2 separate regions of the Homo sapiens genome follow, and region 1 is linked to region 2. The links are contacts of gene promoters, found by promoter capture Hi-C in blood cells and fetal thymus (Javierre and others, 2016). All regions are on one chromosome and are shown on one strand. Each heading gives the region's core, a stretch centred on a gene start or on the middle of the fragment in contact. The rest is flanking DNA. Distances are from core to core; before and after follow the strand shown. Region 1 has its middle 35 kb from the start of MIR934. Region 2 holds the start of RBMX (RNA binding motif protein X-linked).

Region 1 (7,486 bases), core at 4,259-6,758, 300 kb after region 2:
GCAATTTTGTCAGGAATAAACAAGAAATAAACTCCTGGGTGAGTGAAAGGTCTGGGAACATCTGTTCAGGGAAAATAATTGAGCATATTGGTGGAAGGAGCCTGCGAGTATAAAATAGATCGGGAGGCTTTTTTTTCTACATTGTTTCTGAGTTTTAATTTATCAAATTTCATGCTGATTTTGTAACGTATTGCCTGATAAGGGAATTAGAAAGAAAAGCAAGGGTACCAGATAATGCTTCCTTCATCCCAGCTAAAGGTATGCTCCTGAGTTTTCTCAAATATCACTTCTCCAGTGAAGCCTCCTCTGGCCTTTCATCCAGCCCTATTAGGTTGGAGCTCCATGGGCTCTCACGACCCCTCACTCCTTTCCCTCAGAGTGCACATCGTGCTTATAATTAAATAACAAATAGGCTGGGCGTAGTGGCTCATGCCTGTAATCCCAGAACTTTGGGAGACTGAGGTGGGCGGATCATTTCAAGTCAGGAGTTTGAGACGAGCCTGGCCAACATGGTGAAACCCCATCTTTACTAAAAAACAAAACAAAACAGAAACAAAAATTAGTGTGGTGTGGTGGCACATGCCTGTAATTCCAGCTACTCAGGAGGCTGAGGCAAGAGGATTGCTTGAACCCCAGTGGCGGAGGTTGCAATGACCCAAGATTGCGCTACTGCACTTCAGACTGGGTAATAGAGCAAGACCCTGTCTCAGAAACAACAACAACAACACCCAAACTGTGTAATTGTTAGTTTAGTGCTTTTTTTCCTCCTAGATGGTACGCTCTGTGAGGACAGGGACTGTGTCCATCTTAGTCACTGCTTACCAGGGACTCCTAGCTCAGAACCCGGCACATAGTGAGTGTCAGTTAATATTTCTGAATTAATTTCATTTTCCCACCCATCCTTTATCTGAACTAGCTGAATGGGTTTCTATTTCTTGCAAACAAGAAAGTTAAGAAGAATTTGCCGGATGCAGTGGCTCATGCCTGTTATCCCAGCGCTTTGGGAGCCTGAGGTGGGAGGATTTCTTGAGCCTAGGAGTTTGAGACCAGCTTGGGCAACATGGAGAGAACTCTGTCTCTACAAAAAAATGACAAAATTAGCCAGGCATGGTGGTGTGTGTCCGTGGTCTCAGCTACTCAGGAGGCTGAGGTGGGAGGATTGCTTAAGCCCTGGAGGTCAAGGCTGCAGTGTGCTGTGATTCACCACTGCACTCCAACCTGGGCGACAGAGCAAGACCCTGTCCAAATAAATAAATAAATAAATAATAAATAAATTTATTTTTGTAACAAAAAGAAGGATGTAAAGGATTAAAGAAAACTCAGAGTCTCTGGGAAATCTTAGCACAGGTTTCTTTTCAAGAGTTTATTTGCCAAGGCATTCATCCTGTTTGTAACACTAAGGGCCTACGTTTCAGACTCTGAGTGCTTGCACAACTAGATCTGCTCCCTCTTCTCAGCCTCAGGGTAAAATGTTACACTACTTCTTTCCTCACCTCCATTCTAGTTTCATTTTTAGGTTGCTAATCTGACCTTTAGTTTTGTTTTTTTTTTTGTTTTTTTTTTTAATGAGGCACTAAATGCAAAGAGAAAGTAGGTATTTTCCCCAGATGTTATTTTACCAAAGTGAGACAACATCATTTCTTAGATTTTCTGTAGTTAGGGACTTGAGAGCAGTTCAAAGTCCCCATTCCTCATACACATACCAGAATATAATCTATCCTTATCTCACAGCCAATTTTTCTTGGAAAAGTTAATTTGTGGTGTTGAAAAGGGAATATTGTTTATGCTTTGTCCATGAAACTGAAGGGCTTAGCAAACACCAGACTTCTGAATATAGGATTTAATAATTATCTCCCCAAATGAGGTCTTTATTCCCATTTAGTTCAGAATTTAACAAATGCACTCAATTCCCTTCTCCCCCAACACCTGTAGTATTCAGGCAGAACTTCAAAGCCCTCAGCCAGGGCTATTATAAGCAAAGCCCCGTGATAGGTGGGAGGCTGCACTAGAAACTAAGATCCCCACTCACAAGGCAATATTTCAAGGATTGCACAATCTCAAGAGTGAAGCATTTCTTGAGAATACATTTTTAAAACATTGATTACTCTTCTATGCTGATTGTATTGGCAATATATTTTAATATATAAGAAGACATTACTTTTCTACCTCCATTCCAGGAACGGTGGCTACTCCTAGTTCTCTTTTGATCTCCGTGGTAAGATGCCACATCACCTCCTCCAGGAAGCCTTACTCTACCCCCACCAGCCCTGTGCCCTCCTCTGTGCCCCTACAGCAGTCCCAGTAGACCCCACAGAGCACTTGACCCTTCACTCCCTTTCTCCTGTTTCCTTTTAACTGAGAGCCCCTGAGAGCAAAACCCACATCTTTTTCATTCGATCAATTCTGCCCTATCTTGCCTCTGGGCCTTCACTCCTAATTATCTTTCAGAGCTTTGCTTCAAGCACCTGCCTCCTGTGTGAAGCCTTTCACAACACTTTCCCATGTTCTCCTACCATGGGCTATAATCCCACAGCCATGGGGCCCACTGGATTTACTGTAATCTATTTGCTAGAATGTCTCCAGGTGTGCTAATAAATGTTTAATAACTGATTTTATGAAAGGAAAAAAGAAAACATTCCAAGTTTATAGTGATTGCCAATTTCCACTGTGTAAATATTCCCACCATGACCAATTTCAAGCTACCGACGTGAGGCTACACATTGATTTGGGTAGAAATGCCCAGTAGTACAGCATTATACAGCATTTCCATCAGACTGCTACAATAGCTATAGATCACCTCAAGAGCATATATAATAAGCAATGGCAGTAAAATAATTAGGAAGTGATACATTTTGAGTGTTTCTTACCTTTGTTTGAAATGTATTTTAATTGCAGGCTTATAGAATTTTATTTTTAATAAGTTTGTGTTTAACGACTGACTGGCAAAAATTTCTAAACATCTATCAACTCTCATGAATCAGTAGCAATGGGCTCCAGTGCATCACTGTTTGTATCTCTGACTAGACTGTGAACTTGAGAACTGGGACTGGGACTGTGCTGCTCATGGCACCTCCAACACCTAACACAGAGGAGGCACTGTGTAATGTTCATTGGCGGCAGCCAGGCATATCCATCCTTTTGTCCTCACTTTAAAAGGAGTTAAGAGAAAGTTCAGTGTGCTGTTTAACCACAAAGGCCACTTGGCAAATGCTCTAGAGGAAGCCATACCAACCTCAGCTAAGAACGAGGTCAGATCTCCGTCATACATAGTACTTTATTGCCAACTTCCTACATGTTAAGCTAGTGTGCCACTCCCTACTGAGAAACAAACAAGGCTCTGCTAAGTGTTTTATCCTTTCCTTGAGGGGTTAGCACCAGCTTACTTCCTAAAGAAGCAAGCCAAGATAGCACAGGTCTGATATTAATGCCAAATTCACACAAAATCCCATGTGGCAAAAGAGAATTCTTGCCTTTCTAAGCCTCAGACACTGACCCAATTATTTTAAGATCCATTGGCATTCACTGAATTCCAGCACAACAGGAGAATTTAACATTTCTCTGCGGTTTCTTAAAATGGTTTTGACTACCCTAGAGCACCAGGCCAGCCACCAGCAGGATAGAATGACAGGAATAGTCACAGTGTGTTAGAGGTCAAATCCCTAAGCCTACCTCTTAACTACTGGTGGAACTCTCTAGAAATGAACTTTTCATAATCATAGCAATGGTTAATATGCCACGAGTGCTATCTACCTCTGTGCCAAGCACCGTGTTAGACCATCCTCATAGACTAATTAATGAGGCCTCACATAAAGTCCTCAAGCAGTGGCACCCTCATTTAAATTGTCAGTTTGCTGGGGCTGTTGCCAATCCAGTAAGGCCGGACTGTAGCTGGGATAAAAAGGTTTCACTTCATTAAGCACCAAAATAATGCCATGGCTCTCTAAGAAATCATACTTGTGGGGAAAAGTCTCCTCTCAGTGACCATTTTTCCTTTTTGCCAATATGATGCCATACAAACTGGCAGATGTGGCTTCCTCAATGGGCATGACGAAGTCACCTTGAATTGCTCCATTGAGAAGCATGGCAAAAAGTGATTCCATGGGCTCAGCTTTGCCCTTGTCTGACATCCGTTCAGAGAGTTAAAATTCGTTGGCTTTTCAGGGCAGTGGGTGACATTACCCATGGTCCTCTACAGATCTTCAATAAGTTGACATTTCAAATCATTTGAATAAATCAAAGTGACAGAGGCACCTTAAGTTGCTGAGTTGGGGAGATGATTATAGAGAGCGAAAGACACATTTTCATTTTATTGCTGATGAGCAAAATAAGTAAAATTTGAAAAGGAAGTGGGATGCCTTGTGGGAGGAACCTTCTCAGGAAGAGGACTGCAAGTGGTACCTCTGTCTTGCCAGTGATAAACTGGTGCAGAAACGTTTCCAAACTATTCATCATGTGCACCCTAAAAACCCGATATGTAGAATCTGCACTATCCCTGAAAACAAGAGAGTCCCTGATTTGGTAAATCTTAACCCTGGAATACAAGCTTTCAGTATCACTTGGAGAAGTGAATCCAGTTTCCCTTAAGTGAAACTTGAGCCTTGGTCCCTCATAGCTATTGACCCTTATCTTCTGCAAAAGACCACTGGTGAAAACACAAGCTTAGTTGCTCTTCTATTTGTGTACAGAAATAGCCTAACTCTGCTTTCAAGCTGCTTTGTTCAAAATGTGCTAAGGATTTGTTGAGTGAATAAAAAAAGCAAGCAAGCAAGCAAACAAACAAAACTTTATTTTTTTTTCTTATTTCTCTAGAAAACTGGTAAACAAACAAACAAAACTTTAAATCAGACTGCAATTTAGGTCAAAAGTTAGAAAATATATTTGCAGTGCCTAATTCAGGAAGGAAGATCTTTTTCATGCTAATCTACTGCTAATTATAAAATAGGTGATAGCAAGCATTGTGAAGAGCTAAAAAGGAGGGGGTGGGGGCAGTGCTACTTCATAATTTAGTCACCCTTGATTGGAAAGTGGGCGTTTTAAGATTTGACACCAAACCCCAGCGAGTTACTCTGTAGCATGAGTTTCTCTCACTTCGGACTTTCAGTTTGGACACAGAAAGAACAGGGCAAAAAGTAAAGCCAGAAGGGATGATTTTTAAATGGCAAACTGCAAATAAGGATAGGTTTCAGGCTCCGTTGCAAATAGAGGTGGAATAATGAGAATAAGCTCTGTAAGGCCTGAAGGGAAGGAAACACATGGAGGTGGTCAGCTCCGTGCCCAACAAAATGCCCTTGAAGAAGCCTTTATGATCCTGGGTATAAGAAGAAGGTGGGGGGGAGCACTAAACCATTCTAAGACGAAGTTGTAACATTGACAATGTTGACTCCCTAGAACCAAGTCAGGGGAAGTATGTTTGGAGTCTAAGAAGCACAGTCATGTGTTGCATAATGATGAGGGTACATTCTGAAAAATGTGTCATTAGGTGATTTTGTTGTGTGAACAGCACAGAGTGCACTTACACAAACATAGGTGGTATAGCCTACTACACACCCAGGCTATATGGTGTGGCCTATTGCTCCTAGGCTACGAACCTGAACAGCATGTTGCTATGTTGAATACTGTAGGCAATGGGAACACAATGGTAAGTATTTATGTATCGAACATATCTAAATATAGAAAAGGCACAGTAAAAATACAGTATAAAAGATTTAAAAAATTATACACCTGTATAAGGCGCTTACCACGAATGGAGCTTGCAATAGTAGAAGTTGCTCTGGTTGAGTCAGTGAGTGGGTGGTGAGTAAATGTGAAGGTCTAGGACATCACTCCATGCTACTGTAGACTTTACAAACACTGTACACTTAGGCTACACTACATTTATAAAAAATATTTTTTCTTGGCTGGACATGGTGGCTCACTCCTGTAATCCCAACACTTTGGGAGGCTGAGGTGGATGGATCGCTTAAGTTCAGGAGTTTCAGACCAGCTTGGGCAACATGGCAATACATCATCTCTACAAAAAATTTAAAAATTAGCTGTGTGTGGAGGCACACACCTGTAGTCCCAGCAACTTGAGAGGCTGAGGTGGGAGGACCACTTGAGACCAGGAGTTCAAGGCTACAATGAGCCATGATTGCATCATTGCACTCCAGTTTGGGTGACAGAGCAAGACTCCATCTCAAAAAATACATAATTTTTTTCTTTCTTCAATAACTAATTAACCTTAGCTTACTATAATTTTTTCACTTTATAAACCTTAAATTTTTTTACCTGTTTTACTGTTTTGTAATAACACTTAAACACAAATTGTACAGCTGTACAAAAATATTTTCATCATGTATATCCTTATTCTCTAAGCTTATCTACTTTAAAACTTTTACTTTTTATTATTTTTACTTATTTTTAGTTTTTTTTAATGGAACGCATCACAATTTGTGTGTCATTCTTGCACAGGAGCCATGTTACTATTCTCTGTATCACTCCAGTTTTAGTACATGGGCTGCCAAAGCAAGCGCAGTTTTGAGACTTTTTTGTTAGACTCTAAGACCAAACACACACATTAGCCTAGGCCTACACAGGGTCAGGATCATCAGTATCATGGTCTTCCATCTCCACATCTTGTTCCCCTCTGGAAGGTCTTTAGGGACAGTAACATTCACGAAGCTGTCATCTCCTACGCTAACAATTTTTTCTTCTGGAATACTTCCTGAAGGACCTGCCTGAGCTTGTTTTACACTTAACTGTTTTTTTTAATAAGTAGAAGGAGTCCGCTTGAAAATAATGATAAAAGGTATGGTATAGTAAATATCTAAACCAGTAACATAGTTGTTTATTGTCATTATCAAGTATATGTTCTATACATAGTTGTATTGCTAGTCTTTTATATGACTGGCAGAGCAATAGCTTGTTAACACTAGTGTCACAAACATGAGTAATGCATTGCATTGCATTATGGTGTTAGGGCTGCAACGTTACTATGACTACAATGCCACTAGGCAATAGGAAATTTTTAATTCCATTGTAATCTTATAGGACCACCACTGTACATGTGGTCCTGTGATTGAGCAAAACATCGTTATGGGGCACATGACTGTAGCTTTTGGGCAAGTGGGTCTCAATCCTGCCTGCATATTAGAATCACCTGGAGAGCTTATAAAACTTTTGCTGTCTGGGCTGCCGTCTGAACTAATTAAATCAGAATATTTGGGTGTGAGACCCCAAATTGGTATTTTTATTTATTTACTTTCAAAATTAGGTAATTCGATTGATTGATTTACCTACTTATAGCTGTCAGTATTTTCGAAACATTCGAAACACACAGTATTTCAATGTGCAGTCAAGGTTGAGAACCATGAATTAAACAGCAACAAAGCAGAGTTGTAAAAAGGACTCTAATGTGTGTTTAGTTTTGTGTTTCCTCAAATGGTGCTTTCTCTTACAGCTGGCATGCAATATGGGCAATTAGTGTTAGTGTTCATCTTAGTCCATT
Region 2 (7,708 bases), core at 752-3,251:
TTCTTTCCTCCCCGTGTCCACTGCCGCCACCCTGATTCAAGCCACCATCCTCTCTTTCTGGTCTGCTCCCACAGCCCTATTAGTGTCCTTTTTCCCACACTTACCCCCTACAGTCATTTAATGGGCTCAAAGGTCCTGCCAATCTTGGCTCCCTCATTTCATGCCCCTCATATTCTTGTCACCTGGCCCTCTTTCTGTCCCTTGATATATGCCAAGCTCTTCCTCTCTACTTTGTGTTTACTATTCTCTTCTTTTCCTGAAGGTTTTTCCCTCAGCTGTTCCCATAGCTAGTTTCTTTTCTTCCTTCAGCTCTGATCTCCAAAGTCACCTCTTCACATAGACCTTCCCTGATGTTTTAATCAAATTTGTTCTCCCTAATATTGTCCATCAAAGCAACTAGTTTATTTCCTCCCTGGCATTAATCACAACATGCCATTCTTTTGTTAATTGTATTCAATTTCTTTAAGAAAAAAATTAAAAAATTTTTTGGTTTCCCCCCTCAACAAGTAGGATGGGCAGATGAAATATAGAATGCTCAGTTAAATTTGAATTTCCGATAAACAGCGAATTTTTAAAATATGAGATTTGGGACATACTATACTAAAAAAAGTATTCGTTATCTGAAATTTAAACTTAACTGGGCGTCCCTTTTTTTTTTTTTAGACGAAGTCTCGCTCTGTTGCCAGGCTGGAGTGCAGTGGTATGATCTTGGCTCACTGCAACCGCCGCCTCCTGGGTTCAAGCAATTCTCCTGCCTCAGCCTCCCGAGTAGCTGGGACTACAGGCACACGCCGCCACGCCCGGCTAATTTTTTTATTTTTTATTTTTATTTTAGTAGAGACGGGGTTTCACCATGTTGCCCAGGCTGGTCTCAAACCCCTGAGCTCAGGCAATCTGCCCGCCTCGGCCTCCCAAAGTGCTAGGATTACAGGCATGAGCCACCGCGCCCCGGCCGCGTCCCATATTTTTATTTAAAATTTTTTAACAGCTTCGCAGAATAAATTAGCGTCCCGCATTTTCTTTTTTATTTTGAGACGGAGTCTCGCTCTGTCGCCTGCCCAGGCTGGAGTGCGGTGGCGCAGTCTTGGCTCACTGCAACCTCCGCCTCCCGGATTCTCCTGCCTCAGCCTCCCGAGTAGCTGGGACTACAGGCGCGTGCCACCACGCCTGGGTAATTTTTTGTATTTTTAAAAAGAGACGGGGTTTCACCGTGTTAGCCAGGATGGTCTCCATCTCCTGACTTCGTGATCCACCGACCTTGGCCTCCCAAAGTGCTGGGATTACAGGCGTGAGCCACTGCACCCGGCCTGGTATTTTCATTTATTAAATCCGGCATCCTTACCCACAGGCCTGACTCTTGTCTTTTCCCTGGAGTTGTATTTTCCTGGCCTAGCCCAGAGCCCACCATTTACAAGGTGCTCAGTAATTGTTCTATATGAATGTACTATCTGCATGCTGTTTTGTACGTTTTTTACTCATCTGAAATTTACATGTATTTATCAGAAATTCCCACACTCACTAAAAACACTTGTTAAAGACAATTTTTGAAAATATATTATATTGCCAAAACTTCTTTGTTTTCCGTTTCTGCAAAATTGGTATAGTAGGAGTATCTACCCTCATCACATTTTGACAATTAGAAGAGTTAATGGAAAAGTAAAAGTAAAGTTTTGCACCGTGCCCGGCCCACTAGGACGCTCAATAAACTTCAGTTCTTTATTAAAGGAAGCCTGTGCACCATTTTAGCGTAAAGCAAAAAAAGCGCGTTTGTAAAGAACGGGTGGGGGTAGAGAAAACGGTTAGAAAGGTCTGTCGACCCAACACCGAGGGCCCGGGAAAAAGGGAGGAGAGAAGGGTGAATGACAGAGGAGCCAGCCAATGGGGAGACTGGGAACTACTTCCCCCCTCCCTTTGCGTTTCAAATTCTAAGCTCCGTTTCCATCCGGGTCCTTCAGCCTCGTTCCCGGGCAGTATAAAGTTTGCTGTCTCCTTTGTTCGCCCTCGTTGCGCAGTAGTGCTAGCGGCTTCGCGGTTCGGTCCTCGCACCCGGCAGCCGCCACTGGTGCTGAGCTGCTAGGAAGCCCCTATCGCCGAGCTCGTTGGAGCTTGAACCCATTGTCACCCCTCCGGTACGTGTCTCCTTTCCTCAGTCCGTTTTTCGTGACACTCTCCCCGTGTTAGGACTGGGGATTATATCTCCCTGGAGATGGGGGTGGCGGGCGCCATTTTAAGAACCCAAAGGTTCCGACCTATTTAAATAAAGCTGAGGGGGTCGAGGGAAAACAAATGAGGGGGCCCGTTTGGTTGTATGCTTCTCGAGAAAGTTTGGCTGCCATCTGCGGGAGTTGGTAGCGGAGGTCGGGGCTTTGTAGGCTGGAGCGGGGCGAGGAGCGACCGCACCACGGCGATACCTGCATTGGTATGGCGCTGGCGCTAATGATGGGCATGTGGACTTCCATGCGGGCTGCGGGCTTCGTATTCATTGGCGGCCCCGGAGAAGAAGCCCTCTGAATGTTCCCAGCCAATGTTGGTGGTAAAAGTTAGTCCCCTGACCAGTGTCGGTGGTTCTGGGTTGAATCCAAGTGTCGCCATTTTGTCTTTTACACGCGGTTTTTAATGACGAGTTTTAATTAGGTTCCGCTGCAGTCACGGAGTGTCGAGTGTTAGTGTGTGCGTCCGCGTTCCGTTACTTAATAGCAAACGATGTTGACGATTTGTTTTTATCTTTTTGGCCGGATAGTAGAATTTTCGGTAGGGCGGGGGCCGGTGAAGAAGAGGGGCGGCATAACTTGGCTTAAACTTCACATTTCTCCTTGGATTTAGTAGGGAATCCTAATGAGGAAAAGAGGAGTCGTTGGAAGAGGGCTTGGTGTTAAGGTCCTGTGTCTAGCCTGTGACCTTGGGAGTCTTTTAAAACCATCGTTAGGAAGGGTGTGATGAGTAATTGAATCTTTCAAAGGCAAGAGGACTGGAACTAAAAGTTGCTTTTTCAAATGTTAAGCAGCTGTTGCTTAAGAACAGCTAAGGGTGATCAAGGGTAGTGGTAAAAGTTAAGTTGGCCCTTTTAACCAGTTTTATGTAAATTGCAGTGTTACTAAACTACTTAGTTCAAATTGCTTCCTACTGTGGCTGAGGCTTAGCTCGTTATCGTTTTCTTTAGTTATTAAGGAACAATGGTTTTAGTGGAAAATATGAGAAATGTGCGAAAGTAAAAGTGTCCAATAAACTTGAGGAACTTTTTGCAGTGAGGTAATACTATTCCTTTTCAACAGACTCACCGGCCCAAAAAAAAAAAAACATGGTTGAAGCAGATCGCCCAGGAAAGCTCTTCATTGGTGGGCTTAATACGGAAACAAATGAGAAAGCTCTTGAAGCAGTATTTGGCAAATATGGACGAATAGTGGAAGGTGAGTTGTCTGGCAGTACAGGCTGGGCTATTATAATTAAAATATAAGCTATGATGAATTTGATTGCATTGATCGTCTGACATGATAATGTATTTTTGTCCTCTAAGAAGTTCTGAGCTTTCTGTTTACACATTTACTTTGGTTATTTCATTTGACCTAGGGTAACACTTTATTTTTCTGAAAACTACTTTTTAGTACTCTTGATGAAAGACCGTGAAACCAACAAATCAAGAGGATTTGCTTTTGTCACCTTTGAAAGCCCAGCAGACGCTAAGGATGCAGCCAGAGACATGAATGGAAAGGTGAGATTGTCTACACGATGGATGATAACCTGTTACTAGTGCATAAAATAACATGTAGTTGTCCAAGTCTGGTCTAGGACAGCTTTTGAGTTTTCGTTGTTTTTCAGTATATACCTGTCTGGGATCCACTCATCCTGTTTGTGATCCTGTTCCAAAGAGTATTCTGTAATTGCAGAACCAAATCTAGTAGTGAGTTATATCTTATGCTCGTAACATTCTCTCAGTTCAGAATAATTATGGCATTACATGGTACTTTTTTTTTTTTTTTTTTGATAGTCTCCCTCCGTTGCCTAGCCTGGAGTGCAATGGTGCAGTGCCCACTGCAGCCTGTCTCCCGAGTTCTAAGCGATTTTTCTGCCTCAGCCCCCCCCCCCCCCCCCAGTAGCTGGGATTACAGGCATGCGCGACCACGCCCGGCTAACTTTGTATTTTTAGTAGAGACAGGGTTTCACCATGTTGGCCAGGCTGGTCTCAAACTCCTGACTTCAGGTGATCCAGCTGCCTCCGCCTCCCAAAGTACTGGGATTACAGGTGTGAGACACTGCGAGCCACTGCGCCCAGCCAACATGATACATTTTATCTTGAGATCCATAAGCCATATTTTGATAACTTGGCTTTTGGTTTTGGCTACTAGTTTTGATAACAAGCTGATACCTACTTGGCCTTGTTTTAAATTTTACCATACAATAATGCAGTGGGTTCACCTTATGTTTCAATCCAGATCATCAGTATCGGTTTTAAGTATTAAGAATTTTAAGCGGAAAAGCCCCATTTATGTAAACTGACTATATTTGCAGTGTTTTTTCTTAGACTAATGAGCAACACTTACCCATAACTGCATTTTGAAGGACCAGTTAGTGTCTTAGTGCATAGTAGATGTGCAAATTATTTTTAAATCTTGATTTAATTTAATCGTATCTTTTTTTTTAGTCATTAGATGGAAAAGCCATCAAGGTGGAACAAGCCACCAAACCATCATTTGAAAGTGGTAGACGTGGACCGCCTCCACCTCCAAGAAGTAGAGGCCCTCCAAGAGGTCTTAGAGGTGGAAGAGGAGGAAGTGGAGGAACCAGGGGACCTCCCTCACGGGGAGGACACATGGGTAATAACTTGCGTGGACCTCGGGTTTGGTGTATAAGTTAGGGACTGCAAGCTCACACCAAGTGGATGCTTTGGTTAAGTCCTTGAGGAAAGGTGCCAACTTTTGAAATTGACAACACTTGTTCATCTACCAAAGTGATTGCCAATTGAAAGCATGGGAAGCATGTTTTAGATTATGGTGTTAAACCGTGGACAGTGTTACTTCTTGTCCAAGTAGTTCACTCTGTAGGAAAGGCATTTAAAAATTGATAGGCCAGGGTGTTGGACATGAAAATGAAATCATTTTTATTTTTTAAAGTTAGCTGGGCGTGGTGGCAGGTGCCTGTAATCCCAGCTACTACGGAGGCTGAGGCAGAAGAATCACTTGAACTTGGGAGGCAGAGGTTGCAGTGAGTTGAGATCGTGCCACTGTACTCCAGCCTGGGGGAACAGCGAGACTCCCTCTCAAAAAAAAAAAAAAAAAGTTTTTTAAGACTACCTTCAGTTCTTATTTCCCCAGTTTCTATGACTGCAGTGCATGCTCCATCAAGTACAAGTGAAACTAGACTACCCAAATCAATAATGGTTTTTTTTTGGGGGGGGGGGGGTAGAGTTTAGCACTTGTTGCCCAGGCTGAAGTGCAGTGGCACGATCTTGGCTCACCACAACCTCTGCCTTCCAGGTTCAGGCGATTGTCCTGCCTCAGCCTCCCAAGTAGCTGGGATTACGGGCATGCACCACCACACCTGGATTTTTGTATTTTTAGTAGAGACAGGATTTTACCGTGTTAGACTGGTCTTGAACTCCTGACCTCAGGTGATCCGCCCGCCTTGGCCTCCCAAAGTGCTGGGATTACAGGCGTGAGCCATTGTGCCCGGCCCAATAATGGTCATATTCTTGATGAAGCAAAGAAAACTTTTATAGTGGCCGAGCCTGGTGGCTCACACCTGCAATCCCAGCACTTTGGGAGGCTGAGGCAGGCGGATCACAAGGTCAGGAGTTCGAGACCAGCCTGGCCAGCATGGTGAAATCCTGTCTCTACTTAAAAAAAACCACCAAAAATTAGCTGGGTGTGGTGGCGCACACCTGTAATCCCAGCTACTCGGGAGGCTGAGGCAGGAGAATTGCTTGAACCCAGGAGGCAGAGGTTGCAGTGAGCCGAGATGAAGCCACTGCACTCCAGCCTGGGCGACAGTGAGACTCTCAAAAAAAAAAAAAAACTTTTATATCTTTCTTGATTCTTGTGAGTAGTAATATTTTTCTTTTCTATTTTTGATGCAGATGACGGTGGATATTCCATGAATTTTAACATGAGTTCTTCCAGGGGACCACTCCCAGTAAAAAGAGGACCACCACCAAGAAGTGGGGGTCCTCCTCCTAAGAGATCTGCACCTTCAGGACCAGTTCGCAGTAGCAGTGGAATGGGAGGAAGAGGTAAATGTTCCATGTATGATGATTTATGCTACTACCGTAACACAAAGAATTGAGAGGTGAATGATGCTTAAAATTTTAATTGGCCAGGCGTGGTGGCTCACGCCCGTAATCCTAGCACTTTGGGAGGCCGCGGCAGACGGATCACGGTGTCAAGAGATCAAGACCATCCTGGCCAATGTGGTGAAACCCCGTCTCTACTAAAAAATACAAAAATTAGCTGAGTGTAGGGCGGGTTCCTGTAATCCCCGCTACTTGGGAGGCCGAGGCAGGAGAATTGTTTGAACCTGGGAGGCAGAGGTTGCAGGGAACCGAGATCATGCCACTGTCCTCCAGCGTGGCAACAGAGTGAGATTCTGTCTCCAAAAAAAAAAAAAAAACAAAAAAAAAAAACTTTATTCATGGAGTCTGGGTGCGGTGGCTCACGCCTGTAATCTTGACACTTTGGGAGGCTGAGGTGGGCAGATCATGAGGCCCGGAGTTCGAGGCCAGTCTGGCCAACGTGGTGAAACCCTGTCTCTACTAAAGATACAAAAGTTAGCTGGGCGTGGTGGTGGGCACCTGTAATCCCAGCTACTCGGGAGGCTGAGGCAGGAGAATCACTTGAACCCAGAAGGCAGAGGTTGCAGTGAGCCAAGATTGCGCGACTGCACTCCAGCCTGGGTGACAGAGCGAGACTCCCATCTCAAAAAAAAAAAACAAAACTTTTAGTCATGTGTTCTAGGTGATTAGATAAATGGAATTAGCACTGAAAAAAATTTAAAATATGAATGGGAAATTGTAGAAAATAAAATTAGGTGATCTAGCCTCCGTAATGTCATCTTTGAAGTCAGTCTCATTATTTTTCATAGCCTGAATGTAAGTTCACGTTTTAACTTTTTTCTCTGGCTATGTTTAAAAAAATGATATTTTTCCTTAAGCTCCTGTATCACGTGGAAGAGATAGTTATGGAGGTCCACCTCGAAGGGAACCGCTGCCCTCTCGTAGAGATGTTTATTTGTCCCCAAGAGATGATGGGTATTCTACTAAAGACAGGTAATAGAAAAGTGCAGCTTTTTAAATTAATAATTAAGGTTGAAGGAAAGCTTATCAAAAGCATAAACCAAAACTTTTGCTTTGTAGCTATTCAAGCAGAGATTACCCAAGTTCTCGTGATACTAGAGATTATGCACCACCACCACGAGATTATACTTACCGTGATTATGGTCATTCCAGTTCACGTGATGACTATCCATCAAGAGGATATAGGTAAGTGACTTTGCTTCTGTGGCTTACATGTAAGAAAAGTTGCAATGAAAGTTGATTCTCTGGGACTTAAAGGTTTCTCTTTAATTTAGCGATAGAGATGGATATGGTCGTGATCGTGACTATTCAGATCATCCAAGTGGAGGTTCCTACAGAGATTCATATGAGAGTTATGGTAAGATACTGGTTAAGGGTCTTTAGTATCACCAGCTTGAGTTTTTAGGTTCGTGAGCCAGTTTATTA

What was found. Contacts are between HindIII fragments. The CHiCAGO score rates a contact against its expected background, and 5 or more counts as called.
Region 1: a contact is called between a fragment that was not itself captured here and the fragment with the promoter of RBMX in region 2, in 1 of 17 cell types (non-activated CD4 T cells). The highest score is 6.8, in non-activated CD4 T cells.

The regions. Positions count from the first base shown.
Region 1 is chrX:136,582,266-136,589,751 of GRCh38, reverse strand. It overlaps the pseudogene RNU6-320P. Among named protein-coding and RNA genes, the nearest start is that of MIR934, 35 kb to the right of the region's middle. RefSeq lists enhancers at 1,558-1,617, 3,060-3,129, 3,220-3,349. The HindIII fragment of the contact is 1,696 bases long and covers 4,661-6,356 here.
Region 2 is chrX:136,875,018-136,882,725 of GRCh38, reverse strand. It overlaps RBMX (RNA binding motif protein X-linked), which reads left to right and starts at 2,001. Exons shown (of 9, transcript NM_002139.4): 1 at 2,001-2,129; 2 at 3,273-3,407; 3 at 3,603-3,709; 4 at 4,640-4,811; 5 at 6,071-6,223; 6 at 7,141-7,255; 7 at 7,343-7,468; 8 at 7,558-7,640. The coding sequence starts at 3,299. It overlaps SNORD61 (small nucleolar RNA, C/D box 61), which reads left to right and starts at 3,455; the gene lies at 3,455-3,527. RefSeq lists enhancers at 1,878-2,476, 2,146-2,605, 2,616-2,675, 2,477-3,076, 7,519-7,708. The HindIII fragment of the contact is 13,799 bases long and covers 1-7,307 here.